Regions from separate parts of the Homo sapiens genome. Here all the other regions are linked to region 2. Evidence: promoter capture Hi-C in 16 types of primary human blood cells and fetal thymus (Javierre and others, 2016). All regions are on one chromosome and are shown on one strand. The core of a region is centred on a gene start or on the middle of the fragment in contact, and the rest is flanking DNA. Distances in the headings are between cores, read along the strand shown.

The links. The method cuts DNA at HindIII sites, captures the fragments that hold promoters and counts their contacts. A CHiCAGO score of 5 or more calls a contact.
Region 1: a fragment that was not itself captured here is called in contact with the fragment with the promoter of ECRG4 in region 2 in 6 of 17 cell types (non-activated CD4 T cells, naive CD4 T cells, naive CD8 T cells and 3 more); the score reaches 8.7 in non-activated CD4 T cells.
Region 3: a contact is called between a fragment that was not itself captured here and the fragment with the promoter of ECRG4 in region 2, in 1 of 17 cell types (non-activated CD4 T cells). The highest score is 5.0, in non-activated CD4 T cells.

What each region holds. Positions count from the first base shown.
Region 1 is chr2:105,952,338-105,956,482 of GRCh38, forward strand. All of the region lies in intron 1 of LOC105373531 (a long non-coding RNA gene), which reads left to right. Among named protein-coding and RNA genes, the nearest start is that of ECRG4, 110 kb to the right of the region's middle. The HindIII fragment of the contact is 1,147 bases long and covers 2,221-3,367 here.
Region 2 is chr2:106,063,532-106,067,554 of GRCh38, forward strand. ECRG4 (ECRG4 augurin precursor) reads left to right here and starts at 2,157. Exons shown (of 4, transcript NM_032411.3): 1 at 2,157-2,312. The coding sequence starts at 2,234. The HindIII fragment of the contact is 9,592 bases long and covers 1-3,080 here.
Region 3 is chr2:105,990,059-105,994,706 of GRCh38, forward strand. No RefSeq gene overlaps it. Among named protein-coding and RNA genes, the nearest start is that of ECRG4, 73 kb to the right of the region's middle. The HindIII fragment of the contact is 1,110 bases long and covers 2,773-3,882 here.

The DNA.
Region 1 (4,145 bases), core at 1,544-4,043, 110 kb before region 2:
ACCAGCTGAGGAAATGGCCTTGGCCACAGGAAATCACCAAGTTCCTCCCTAATTGCCCAGCAGACACCTGCTGGATGCCCCTGTGCTGTTGTCTGGGAACCGTACCTGGCTAAGAGTAGGCAGCTGAAAATATTCACAAAAAGTAAGAAAAGAAAGAAATGGAAAAAGAGAAGAAAAAGCACCAGAAAGAGGGAAGGAAAAGGAAGGGAGGAAGGAAAAGAGAAAGAAACAGAGGGTATGGGGAAGAGTGATAAACTGACCTGACCAATAGGCAAAGAAGCTAAGAAGCTCGGACACCAGGCACCAGGGCAGAATTCTCTTGTCTGAACATCACCACAATGACACTCTGCTGGGATAAGCACCGGGAGGTGCAGATTAAGAATGGCAGCCAGGACGCTGAGACTCTGTCTTCATTTTCCGATGACAACGAGGAGCATCCTGGTGCTGGGGCTGGTGTTTTGCACAAGCGCAAGATGAACATCACTTCCCCCAAGGGACAGAGCCTAGACAACCCCAGGGCTTTCCTTCTTGAGCCTAAGATGGGTCCCTCCTCTTTCCCAAGCATGACAGTCATCAGTTGTGCCTTTACCAGCCCTGGCAGCTCCATGGCCAGCTCCCTTCCTCCTGCCTTCCTCACCCCTTCTCCTGCCCAGAGCTCCTTTCCTCCTCTCTCCCTTCCAGGGAGGCAGTGTGGGAGTTGGGTGAGGGGAGCAGAACTCCAGATTCAACCACTGGGTCTCCTGCTGCCACCAGGGGAGGCCTGATCAGGCAGGTTACTAGGTTACTATGGTCTGAATGTTATGTCTCCCTAAATCCATATGCTGAAACCTAATCCCCAAGGTATTAGGGAGTGGGGCTTTTGGAAGGGGACTTGGTCATGAAAGTTGGCCCTCATGAGGGCAGTCAGTGCTCTTATAAGAGGCCAAAGTGACCAGAGTTCTTCCCTTCCACCAGTGAGGACTAAAGAAGACGCCATCTATGAACCAGGAAGAGCACCCTCAGCAGACACTCCATCTGCTGGCACCTTGATCTTGAACTTCTAGCCTCCACAAACCCATTCCTCTTGTTGATAAGCCACCCAATTTATAGTATTTAGTTATGGCATCCTGAACAGACTAAGATATAGGTCCTGACTAGATATTTATTATTATTGTTATTTGGCAAAACTCCACTCACAATTCACCTCCCTTCGTTGGTTTCTTCACATAATCCCAGACTTTGGTTAGCGCTATATTTTAAATGAGCAGACGAAAGGAATGGAAAGGTAAATATTCCCTGCCTTCTTTTGCTCCTGCCTGCCTGTGGGAGGGGAGTATGACTTTCCCTGGGGCTGGGGGAGAAGATTTCCTCGGAGACTTTCTAGAGTAAGGGATGTGAATCTCAAGGAAGAGAGAAATAAGGAAAAGTAGGGGTGTCTTCGCTTTGTGCTGCCCCAGAAGCAGACCCAGATACAAGAATGGGAGTGCAAGTTTACTATGAAGGTGGAGAAAACTCTGATGGCGGTGGGAATGGGAGAGAGAGGAGGGAAGTCTGTCAGGAAGGAAGTGAAGCCACTTACTGCCCTGGACACTAGGAGCTTAGTCCCTCTTGGAGCTCAGGAAGCTGGAGTGGAACACACACCTCTGAGTCCTCTTGCCCTGGGGTGAAGATGCTGGGGTATTTCCTATACGACTCCACCATTCGGCATGGGTTGGAGGCTGTCCCACTCCATGCCTCTGTGTAGGTTGCAAGGAGAAACCCACTTTCTCAGGTAAAAGAATGCAGGTGCTGCCCTGGGGTGCTTTGAGGTGGTAAGGGATGGGCAGGGTAGGAAATCAACACTGTCTGCTACAGATTTTAAGAAAGGAAAGCTATGATCTTCAGTCCTCCTGATGGCGTGTGAGACACCTAAGCAAGGAACATCGGTTCTTTGGAAGTTGCTTCCTGATTGCCACAGTTTATCCTTTTCAATGAGCTGCTCCCAAAGCCTGGGCCACAGATCCTCACCACCTGGAGGCTGCAATGTCCTTTGCCCAGCTAAGCACCGCCGTCTCCTGAGCCTGGATCCACAGCTGGACTGCAAGCTCCTCAAGCATGGAGCTGCTGTGTGATTGCTTTTGTGTTTCTGAATCCTGCCTGAGATGTCTTATTTACATGCCCAGAGGAGGAGACAGAAGAGGAGAGCATTGAAAAAGATCCCTTTCATCAAGGAAGGGGTTTTCAGAGACCACGCTTGTGAGAAGCTTTGCATAGGGGCTGATCACTCTTCTGCTGAATATCATAAATCTCTTATTGTCCGCTGCTAAAGATGCAAATCGCAGAACTTTTGTTTGGGGCTACTGGCCAGATAGCCTGTAACTGCCTAAGCAAAGCAGTCTCTGAAACACCCATGAGGCCTGGGGATGAAACGGTGCTTCCTAAGTGATCTTGGCCCAAGCGTCACCCGGAGGGCACCCCTAGAGTTTGTTTCTCCCTGTCGTTGAGTGTTTATTGCACTCCAAGGCTAAGGTTCAGCTTAGACTTGGAGGTGGGGACTTTGTTTCTGCCCTGTCCTAATCCTGGAGCCATTTGCTCATCTTTAGGAGAATGATCTGCGGTCCCTGTGCTGTGCTGAGGCCCCCCGGCTTATTCAGAGAGAATGAGCCTTAATAGATGGGAAGGATGAAAAGGAGCAGCTTGCTTCAGGGAGCTGCACTAACCTGGCAGGGTTCTTAGGGACCATTGAGTTTTGTTCCACTTCCTGAACTCCAAATGGCCCCCCAGGGCCCTGGAAGAGTGATTTCAGCTCCAGGGAGCCAATGTGCTCTCCTCATGCAAAAGATCAGACCAGTGTCTTTGTAATCCTAGCTGCCTCGGGAAGGTGCTGGCTGCCTCAGCACCTGCTGCATAAATGCCCATAAATATTGATATTGTTTTAAATTGCCTATTAAAGAGAATGGCCAACTCCATGAAACCATTTTAAATAAATGTAGATTGCCTGACTCCCTGGCTCTTTTTTCATCCTCTGATCCTCTGGAGCTTTTTCTTCTAAAACAAGCTCCCTTCCACCCACAGCACAGGAGGCCCCCGGGAGTGACATGGGCTCCCTGCTCAGCTCCCTCTCTGCAGAGAGGTCCCAGCCTAGTTCTTCCAAATACTTATCTTCTGAAGTAAGTGGCAAGAAGAATGGGGTCCGGAGGAAAGAGAAATGGAGCAGCTGAGGAAGGGCAAAGATGAGCAAGGAAAAGGAAGATCTGGGATTGAAAGAAAAGAAAAAAAAAGATGAAGACATAACAGGAAGAGAGATGACATTAAACTTCCCCAAAGGTCAGGGATGTCATAGCCCAGTGCCTCTCCTCACTGCCTGGGCTGGCCAAAGCATTCCCTTTCTTTCATAAAGATTTCCCTAAGCTTCCAGCTGCCAATCAAGCTTCTGTTCTGCTTCCTAATTCCTCCATCCTTCCCTGTGGCACTGATCACTTTCTAATATTCAGCTGTTGTGGACAGACTTTGAGGGCAAGGAGTTGTCATTTATATATCTGTAAACCTTTCACAGCACAGAGTATAACTTTCAAAAAGTCAAAAATGTGATGTCATCTCAATTGCTGTGGTTTAAATGTGTCCCCTCCAAAATCCAAGTGTTGCCAATGTGATCATATTAAAAGGTGAGGTCTTTAAGAGATGATTAGACCATGGCAGCTTTTTTCCCGTAAGTGGGATTAAGGCTCTTATAAAAGGGGCTCCGGCTGTGTTTGGCTGGCTTGCTCTTCTGCTCTTCTGCCACATCAGCACACGGCATTTGTTCTCTCTTGCCCGTCCACTTCTGCCATGTGAGAACAGAGCAAGAAGGCTCACACCAGATGCCAGTGCTTTAATCTTGGACTTCCTAGACCCCAGAAAGAGTAGAAATAAAATTCTGTTCTTTATAAAGTACCTACCTTTCTGTGGTATTCTGTTACAGCAGCACAAGTAGACTAAAACACCAATCTAGAATACATGTGTCAAAGAGAGATTTCATTACAAAAAAGGGAACACATATAATAGTAATGCCTGTTCAGAAAGCATTTTTAAGAATTGGGTATTTCTAGAAGGTTTTTGGGAACAGAGTGTTAGAATATGATTGCTAGGTTATATAGAACATTGGTTAATGTTCTACCGAGCAATGAAACCACAGCTTCTCTAATGGA
Region 2 (4,023 bases), core at 907-3,406:
TGAGACGCTCCCTGCTACAGAACACTCTCTGGTCATATCCCGATTAAGTGAAGATAATTTATTTTTTTTTAGATAGTGTCTCGCTTTGTCACCCAGGCTGGAGTGCAGTGGCGCAATCTCGGCTCACTGCAACCTCCGCCTCCTGGATTCAAGTGATTCTCCTGCCTCAGCCTCCCAAGTAGCTGGAACTACAGGCACGCACCACCACGCCTGGCTAATTTTTGCATTTTTGTAGAGAGGGAGTTTCACCATGTTGGTCAGGCTGGTCTCAAACTCCTGACCTCAAGTGATCTGCCCTCCTCAGCCTCCCAAAGTGCTGGGATTACAGGCGTGAGCCACCATGATCCCCCTTAAGTGAAGAGAATTTGAATGTCATATTAGAAGTAGATATTGGTAGCAATTTGGGGTAAGGGGGATGATCTCCACAGGATAAATAAGATTACAGCCATTATGTTTAATGTATGTTCTAAACCAATCCAAACAGAATATTGGCTTTTTATGTGCTTTGATTTTTCTTTCTAATGATAAATTTCTTGTCCTCAGGCAAAAGTAAATATATGCCTGGTTACTTTTAAAACTCCTATCCCCTATTCTACAGTTTCCTCAAGGGTTTAGAAGCACTTCCCCAAGATAGCTAGATGTGTAACATTATCCTTCTGATTCTCTCTGACACCCTGGGCAGTATCATGATCTAACTCAGACCCACTTTGCACTTTTTTCTTTGGTTGGCCACCATCTGTCTTTACTAGCTCAATGTTAGAAGACTTCTTTCTCCTTCCTGCTGGAGAAATTCAACTGCATTGCATGGAGAGCTAATTATATGGAGAGACAGTAAGTGCTTACCACTGGAGGGTATAAAAATACTGGCCGGTGTGGTGGCTCACACCTGTAATCCTAACACTTTGGGAGGCCGATGCGGGTGAATCATTTGAGTTCAGGAGTTCAAGACCAGCCTGGCCAACATGGTAAAATCCCTTCTCTACTAAAAATACAAAATTAGCTGGGCCTCGTGGCACATGCCTTGTAATCCCAGCTACTCAGGAGGCTGAGGCAGGAGAATCGCTTGAACCCCGGAGTTGGAGGTTGCAGTGACTGAGATCCCATCACTGCACTCCAGCCTGGGCAACAAGAGTGAAACTCCGTCTCAGGGAGGGGAAAATAAGTGAGAACCTTGGTGAAGGAAAGAGGTAATCAGCTCAGTTCAGGGCAGATCTGAGATGGGAAGACAGGAAAGGTAATCTCACATCTCCATCCTTTTGTAGCCCAGGCCTGGAGAGAATAATTAGGTGACCCGCTCAGAGTCCGTTGGGATAAAGTTGTTCTAGTTTTTGTTCACTACGCCTCCTTTCACGTGTCCTCTACAGTTGAACAGGCCAGTTACTGGGATGCAGTTCTGCGTTTCCCTTGGGTCTCACCTTAACATCGCTCGCTGAAGTGTGCCCAGATTACAGAGCGGGCAAAGGGAAGCAGTGGTTTTGCTCACAGCTGCAGGGCACCAGGTTCCTGGTTTCTCAAAGGCTTTTCTATTGGAGAAGTTTGGGTGAGACGATTTCCCGGACTGCAGCTCTGAACCCAGACTGTGGAATCTTTCAAACTATCTCAAAAACAGCCCCGCCTAAGGCATCCTTAAGAGCAGCTCTGAACTAAGGAAATTCCAAAGCCCACTTTACAAACCAGGCAGAAGCAAGGCCCCCAAGCAGGGAGGGAGGGAGATAGGGAAGAAAGGGGTGAGGAGTAAGGGGAACAGTGGCGCGGCTGGGGCGGGCGGAGGAAGTGGGGGAGCCAAGGAGACACCCCAGCGCTGGGATCCGGCAAGTCCTCCCTCTGAGTGGCCAGGGGGCCTCGTCCCTTCTCCCGATGCCTTCTGCCCTTCCTTGGGTCTCCGGAACCCAGCTTGTCCTAACCGCTTTCGCTGCGGGCAGCGCTGGCCACGCGGCCCCCGCCGCCGGCGGTTCTCCGTGGCCAAGCATCCTTGGCCTTGGAGCCCAGGGGCTGCGTTCCCCTTGGGGCCGGGGCGGGAGAGAGGACCTCGGTGGTACTCGCCCGTGCGCTGGGCGCAGCCGCTTGGCCCTCAGCCCTCTGGCGCGGCGCCCACCCGCTGGGTCCCGCCCCGGCAGCGACGCAGGGATAACCCGCGGCCGCGCCTGCCCGCTCGCACCCCTCTCCCGCGCCCGGTTCTCCCTCGCAGCACCTCGAAGTGCGCCCCTCGCCCTCCTGCTCGCGCCCCGCCGCCATGGCTGCCTCCCCCGCGCGGCCTGCTGTCCTGGCCCTGACCGGGCTGGCGCTGCTCCTGCTCCTGTGCTGGGGCCCAGGTGAGCGGGGCGATGCCAGGCTGATTGATAGCGGCACCAGGGGTTGGCCCCATGTGGCGCTTCCATGGTGCCCGGGGAGAGCGATCGGTGATGGGGTGGCGGCGTAGGGACCCATCCTTAGCCTAGGCAGGGCCAAGGGGTGGTAGAGGACCGGGTCTGGGGTTTTGCACTCGCACAAGTGCGAAGTGGTGCCCTTGTGAGGGTGGAGAGAGTACCGGGGTCAAGGGGAGGGTCTCAGATCTCCCGGGCAACCTTGGGCAAGGAGGGCCAGGCGTCCGAAGGGTGGGCAAGTAGTGTTTCGTGGCTTAACGTAAGGGGCAAAAGGGTTGTGGGGGCTTTACGCAGCTGGTAACCCAGAGGAGGCAAATGGCACCATCACCGCCATTCCCTTCCAGGCAGTCGCTTAGCAACCAAGTTGACTTGCGCTTCCCAGCTGGGTCAAGTTGCAATTTGCAAAGCTGGGCACAGGCCTCACACCCCAGAGAGGGGAAAGGCTCTTAAAGGAGTAATGCTTAATCTTTCCTGCTTCGTGGAGCTCCCAGCGAATCGGTTGAAAACTCTGAAATTCTCTGCTCGCTCTCTGTAAAACGTGCATTCACACGCACACCCAGAATGATGGGTGCTCCGATATCTGATCGCTGGGCTCCACAGGCCCCACTTTAGGAACCATAATCTGAAGCCGTGGTTTGTCCTGAGTTACCACCTTCACTGGGTAGGAGGAACATTTATGGTTCACAAGTGGCCTCAAGGACACATGACTGCCTTTGAAGCTTACAACTAGGGGAGGCAGGGATTGTTACCTCAGAGTTACTGGTGTATGAAGTGACTTGCCCAAGAGCCTGAGACTGGCGCTGTCCCACTGCAAAGCAGCTGGGCACTGCCTAATGTAAAAGGGAGGCTCACTCGGTTGCTCAGTTTCTGTATTTTGCTCATTCGAAACAGGTATGGAAACTGAACTCGAGGTGAGAAGAGGCAGGGGACATTCAGTAGGAGCCCTGGGATGGAGCCCCGGGGTTGCTAAAACAGCAGGAGGCGTGGTGAGGTCTGTTCAGGTGGGGAGGATTATTGTTCCACCTTAGAATCACAGGCGAAGCTAATCAGTCATTTCCCGTTGTATGGTTTACCTGCCTCCCACTCTTTGTTCTTGCCACTTTAAGAAGCACATCTGGGCCGGCCTTGGTGGTTCATACCTGTAATCCCAGCACTTTGGGAGGCCGGGGGGGGGGGGGGGGCAGATCACCTGAGGTCGGGGGTTCGAGACCAGCCTGACCAACATGGAGAAACCCCGTCTCTACTAAAAATGCCAGACGTGATGGCACGTTCCTGTAATCCCAGCTACTCGGGAGGCTGAGGCAGGAGAATTGCTTGAATCTGGGAGGAGGAGATTGCGGCGAGCTGAGATCGTGCCATTGCACTCCAGCCTGGGTAACAAGAGTGAAACTCCGTCGCAAAATAAAAAAAGAAATAAATAAAAGAAGAAGAAGAAAAAAGCACATCTGAATAAGTCAAGTGAGCACTGGCTACAAGCCATTTATTTTCAGGACTTGTATTTTATTTAGTTTATACCAATAACTCAGTTAAAATATCATCACCGAGCTGGGATGTGAAAGTTCTTATACAGTGAAAATATTTTTTTTTTTTTTGAGATGGAGTTTTGCTCTTGTTGCCCAGGCTGGAGTGTAATGGCGTGACCTTGGCTCACTGCAACCTC
Region 3 (4,648 bases), core at 2,078-4,577, 72 kb before region 2:
CCACATCCTCACCACCTGCTTCTTTGATCACCAATAAATATGGTGGGCTCCCAGAGCTCGGGGCCTTCACAGCCTCCATACTAGTGTTGGCCCCCTGGTCCCACTTTATGCACTCTAAACTTGTCTTTTCTCATTACTTTGAGTCCGCTGGACTTCGTCATCCCCATGGCCTGGTTTTGGGTCCAGCCACCCCAACATTCCTGGCACCTGATGTGGGGCAATGAAGACCCCAGTGAAGGAATGCTAGAGCATGTGAAAGCAGAGGACCCATCATTAAAGGACACCTGAGGACAACTGAAAGAAGCTCAGCAGGAAAGCTGAGTGCTCGGAAGAACCAGGGTAACAATGGGACTGAATGAAAGCAAATATACTGCTTATTTGAATTTCTTAAGGCATTTATTATGAAGAGGGGGAGTGAAAGTTAGTAATCCGAATTTGTTATCACTTTTTAGTACAGTAAAGCAGTTTTGCGCATGGTTCCTGGAACAAGGGACCATAGAGTTGGATGAATGGGATAGAATTGGAAGAGATTTTTAAAAGGCATATAAAGAGGGGGCAAAAATTCCAGTTTCCATGTGGTCAATGTGGGCACCAATAAAGGCAGCTCTTGAGCCATTTCAAACAGATGATGAGGCAGATTCACATGAGGAAGGGGAGGACGAGTGTAAAAAACTAACTTCAGATTCTAAATGTGAAGAACAGAAACTGGAGGAAATTAAAGAAAAGAAAGGGAAACAGAAAAAGTATGTTTTACTAGCCCGTCAGCTCCACCTGCTGAAATAAGTGAATGACCACTTCCTCCCTCTCCCCTTAATGGGTGAGAAGATGAATTAGCTGCAAAACTTACCGTTCCTGTAGCTGCAACATTAAAACGTGGAGCAATTGGTGGTGCCATACAAAACTCTATTCAAAAGGCTGGAGCCGACGGAGACCTTGAAGTATGGCAATTTCCAGTTACTATAATCCAGCAAGTAGGACAGAATATAGCTAATTGGGCCACCTTTTCATTTAAGTTGTTAAAGGAATTCAAGCAGGCCATTAGTCAACATGGGCCAAACTCTCCTTTTGTGCAAACTTTGTTAAAAAATGTGGCTCTTGATAATAGGTTAATACCATATGATTGGAATACTTTAACAAAATCTGTTTTCACTCCATCTCAGCATTTACAGTTTAAAACCTGGTGGGCTGACAAAGCTCAAAATCAGGCAAGGGAAAACACACAAGTGCAGCCACCTGTGCCTGTTTGCTTTGAACAGTTAATGGGAGTCGACCCTAATTGGAGCTGATTAGAAAATCAAGCAGTAATGGAGGATGTTGCCATTGTTCAGCTGCGCTCTGTGTGCTTACGGGCATGGGAAAGGATAAATGTTACAGGGATGGACAACCTCTTTCTGGAAACAGGAAAAGGGGCCCACCTCGGGCCCCTCAACAAACTGAGGCATATCTGGCACAGCCAGTGCCCTTACAAACATAGAATTCTCCCCTGCCACAGCAGGCAGTGCTGCCATAGACCTTTGCAGCACAATTCCCATCTCCCTGCTTCCTGGAGAGCCACCAGAAAAGGTCTCTACAGGAGTTAGGGGACGCTTACACTCAGGAACAGTTGGTCTACCACTTGGGAGGTCTAGTCTAAATTTGAAAGGTGTCACTGTACGTACAGGAATAATTGATTCTGATTATACTGGAGAGATTCAACTAGTTATTAGTTCCTCAACTCCGTGGTCTGCCTCCCCAGGAGAAAGAATTGCTCAGTTGTTGCTGTTACCTTACACAAAACTAGGAAGCAGCACAGTGAAAAGAACAGGAGGCTTTGGTAGTACTAATCCAGCAGGGAAGGCTGTATATTGGGTTAATCAATTAGGTTTTTTGTCTGACAAAAAACCTATTTGTACAGTAACTATTCAGGGAAAGGACTTTGAAGGACTAGTAGATACTTGAGCTGATGTCTCAATTATTGCTTTAAATCAATGGCCCTGACACTTGCCTAAACAAAAGACTTCCATGGGTATTGTTGGCATACGGACTGCCAAAGTTCCTTGATTTTACCATGTCAAGGGCCAGATGGCCAGGAAGGGACAATTCAACCTATTATTACACCTATTCCTGTCAATTTATGGGGTAGAGATTTATTGCAACAATGGAGTGCCCACCAAACATCTGAAGATCTATCATGAGCCACGGCAGGAAGAGAGGACTATGGGAAGAGCCAGAATTCCCAATACGAGTGATGGCATGAATAAACATCTCAGAGATGAAGGAGAAGACTGAGAATACTCATCAGGCAAATCCTCCAACATGAGGACAAATCAAGAAGTTGGCACAGATGGCAGAGGACAACTTGAAAGCACAGAACATAAACAACTAGTAACCTGATGGTGGCCATGCTGGTGGTACTCACCATGGTGGTAAGCTTCCCTACTTTAGGAGCAACTCAGATTTCACTTACTGGGCATATGTCCCATTTCCTCCTTTAATTAGGTCTGTGAGTTGGATGGATCCTGTTATTGAGGTGTACACCAACAACAGTAGCTGGATGCCTGAGCCCATAGATAACCGAGGGCCAATGCATCCTAATGAGGAAGGGATGAAAATGAATATATCCATAGGATGTAAATATCCTCCAATATGCCTGGGACCTGCTGTTGGATGCTTACAAATTATCACACGAGCCTGGTTGGCAATAGTTCCTGGAAAAAATAAATCACATGATTTCAGGGCATAGTTTAAAATATAATCATTCCAAACCTAAAATTCTGCAGTTCCATCTGAATAAGCTTGAATATGGCAAAACAGAGTTTGGTTTGAAGGTGTGGACACTTGAACTTGGGAAGATTGTATAGCAAGTAAGGCTGAGGTGCTACAAAATAATTCCTATGGAATCGTCATTGATTGGTCCCCAAAGAGGATTTTTAAAGACAATTGCACTGCAAGGCCCTCTTGTTGAACAAATGTAATAAACCAGTGGAATCATTGGCAATGGAATCATACACAGTATGTTCAGACAGAAGCTGATTTCCCTATCATATGGAGTCCTGCTGGCATTGTCGCCCCTAGTCCAAAAATGATATCTCCTGCCATAGGACAAGAACATTCAGAATTATGGAAATTAACTATAGATCAAAGTTCAATCAAAATTTGGGAGGGCAAATATAATAAGTATAGCAGGGAGGGAGGTAAAAATAAATATGTTCTTTCTTTTCTTTCCAACAGGACCTTCTGGATTCAGAGTTGTGTTCAGCCACCTTTTATGCTAGCAATAGGAACTGTTACTCTTGATATAAATACACACTTTATTACATGCTCCAAATGTCACTTGTTTACCTGCATTAACTCAACCTTTGATAAAAATCAAACCATTTTATTAATTAGAACCAGGGAAGGAGTTTGGATCCCTGTGTCCCTAAATAGACCATGGGAGGCATCACCATCTATTCATATTGTAACTAAGATCCTTAAAAAACGCTTATCCCATTCCAGAGGATTTATAGTTGCTCTTATATTTGCTATAATTGGCCTCATTGCTGTTACTACTACTGCTGCAGTAGCTGGTGTGGCTCTACACTCATCTGTGCAAACTGCTGAATTTGTCAATAAGTGGCAAATGAATTCCACAAAACTATGGAATTCTCAGGCTCAAATAGATCAAAAAGAGTTAACCAAATTAATGATCTCCATCAGACAGTGATTTGGATGGGAGATTGTATTATGAATTTAGAAAGTAGAATCCACATGCAATGTGATTGGAATACATCTGACTTTTGTATTACTCTCCATAGTTATAATGAAACAGGACTCCGATGGGAAAAGATTAAATGCCATCTGGAGAGCAGAGATGAAAAATCTCACCCTCAATATTGTGAAGCTAAAAGAGCAGGTTTTTGAAGCTTCTCAGGCTCACTTAGTCCTGCACCCTGGAACTGACATCTTGAACAAGGCAGCTGATGGATTGTCTGCAATCAATCCTATGAAATGGATTAAGGCCATTGGAAGCTCTACGTTTGAAAATTCTATCCTAATAATTATGTGCTTGTGCTGTCTCCTTTTAGTCTGCAGATGTGGAAGCTGTCTCTGGAGAGAAAGCTGCTGTCGAGAACAAGCAATGATAGCTGTGGTGGTTTTATGAAAAAAAAGGGGGGCATGTTGGGAGAAGCTGAGGCAGGGCTTGCATGTCTGATATGATGTAAAAGAGTCTTGGAACATGTCTGTGGTTCAGGGTCTAAAGCCCCTCATGGCCTTTGGAACACCAAGCTCTGTGCTAAATGGTGGAAGTCTGCCCTGCCACACCACAATCTAAGCCCAGGGCATAAAACCCTTCGTGGCTTGGATGGAATCCAGGGCTCAGGGTATAAAACCCCTCGTGGCTTCTGGAATGGGTCTAGACTTGCTGGCTTCTTGCTTCTAGCACTCCCAAGCTCATAAAACGATTGTATCTTAAACTATAAGAACATGTTCCCCATTATCTCAAGTGGCAGAATATGTTCCATATACTTCAAAGGAAATGCTAAACCATCACAGCTATAGCTCATGTGCTTGATGCACCACTTCCTTTCAACCCCCACATCCTCACCACCTGCTTCTTTGATCACCAATAAATATGGTGGGCTCCCAGAGCTCGGGGCCTTCACAGCCTCCATACTAGCGTTGGCCC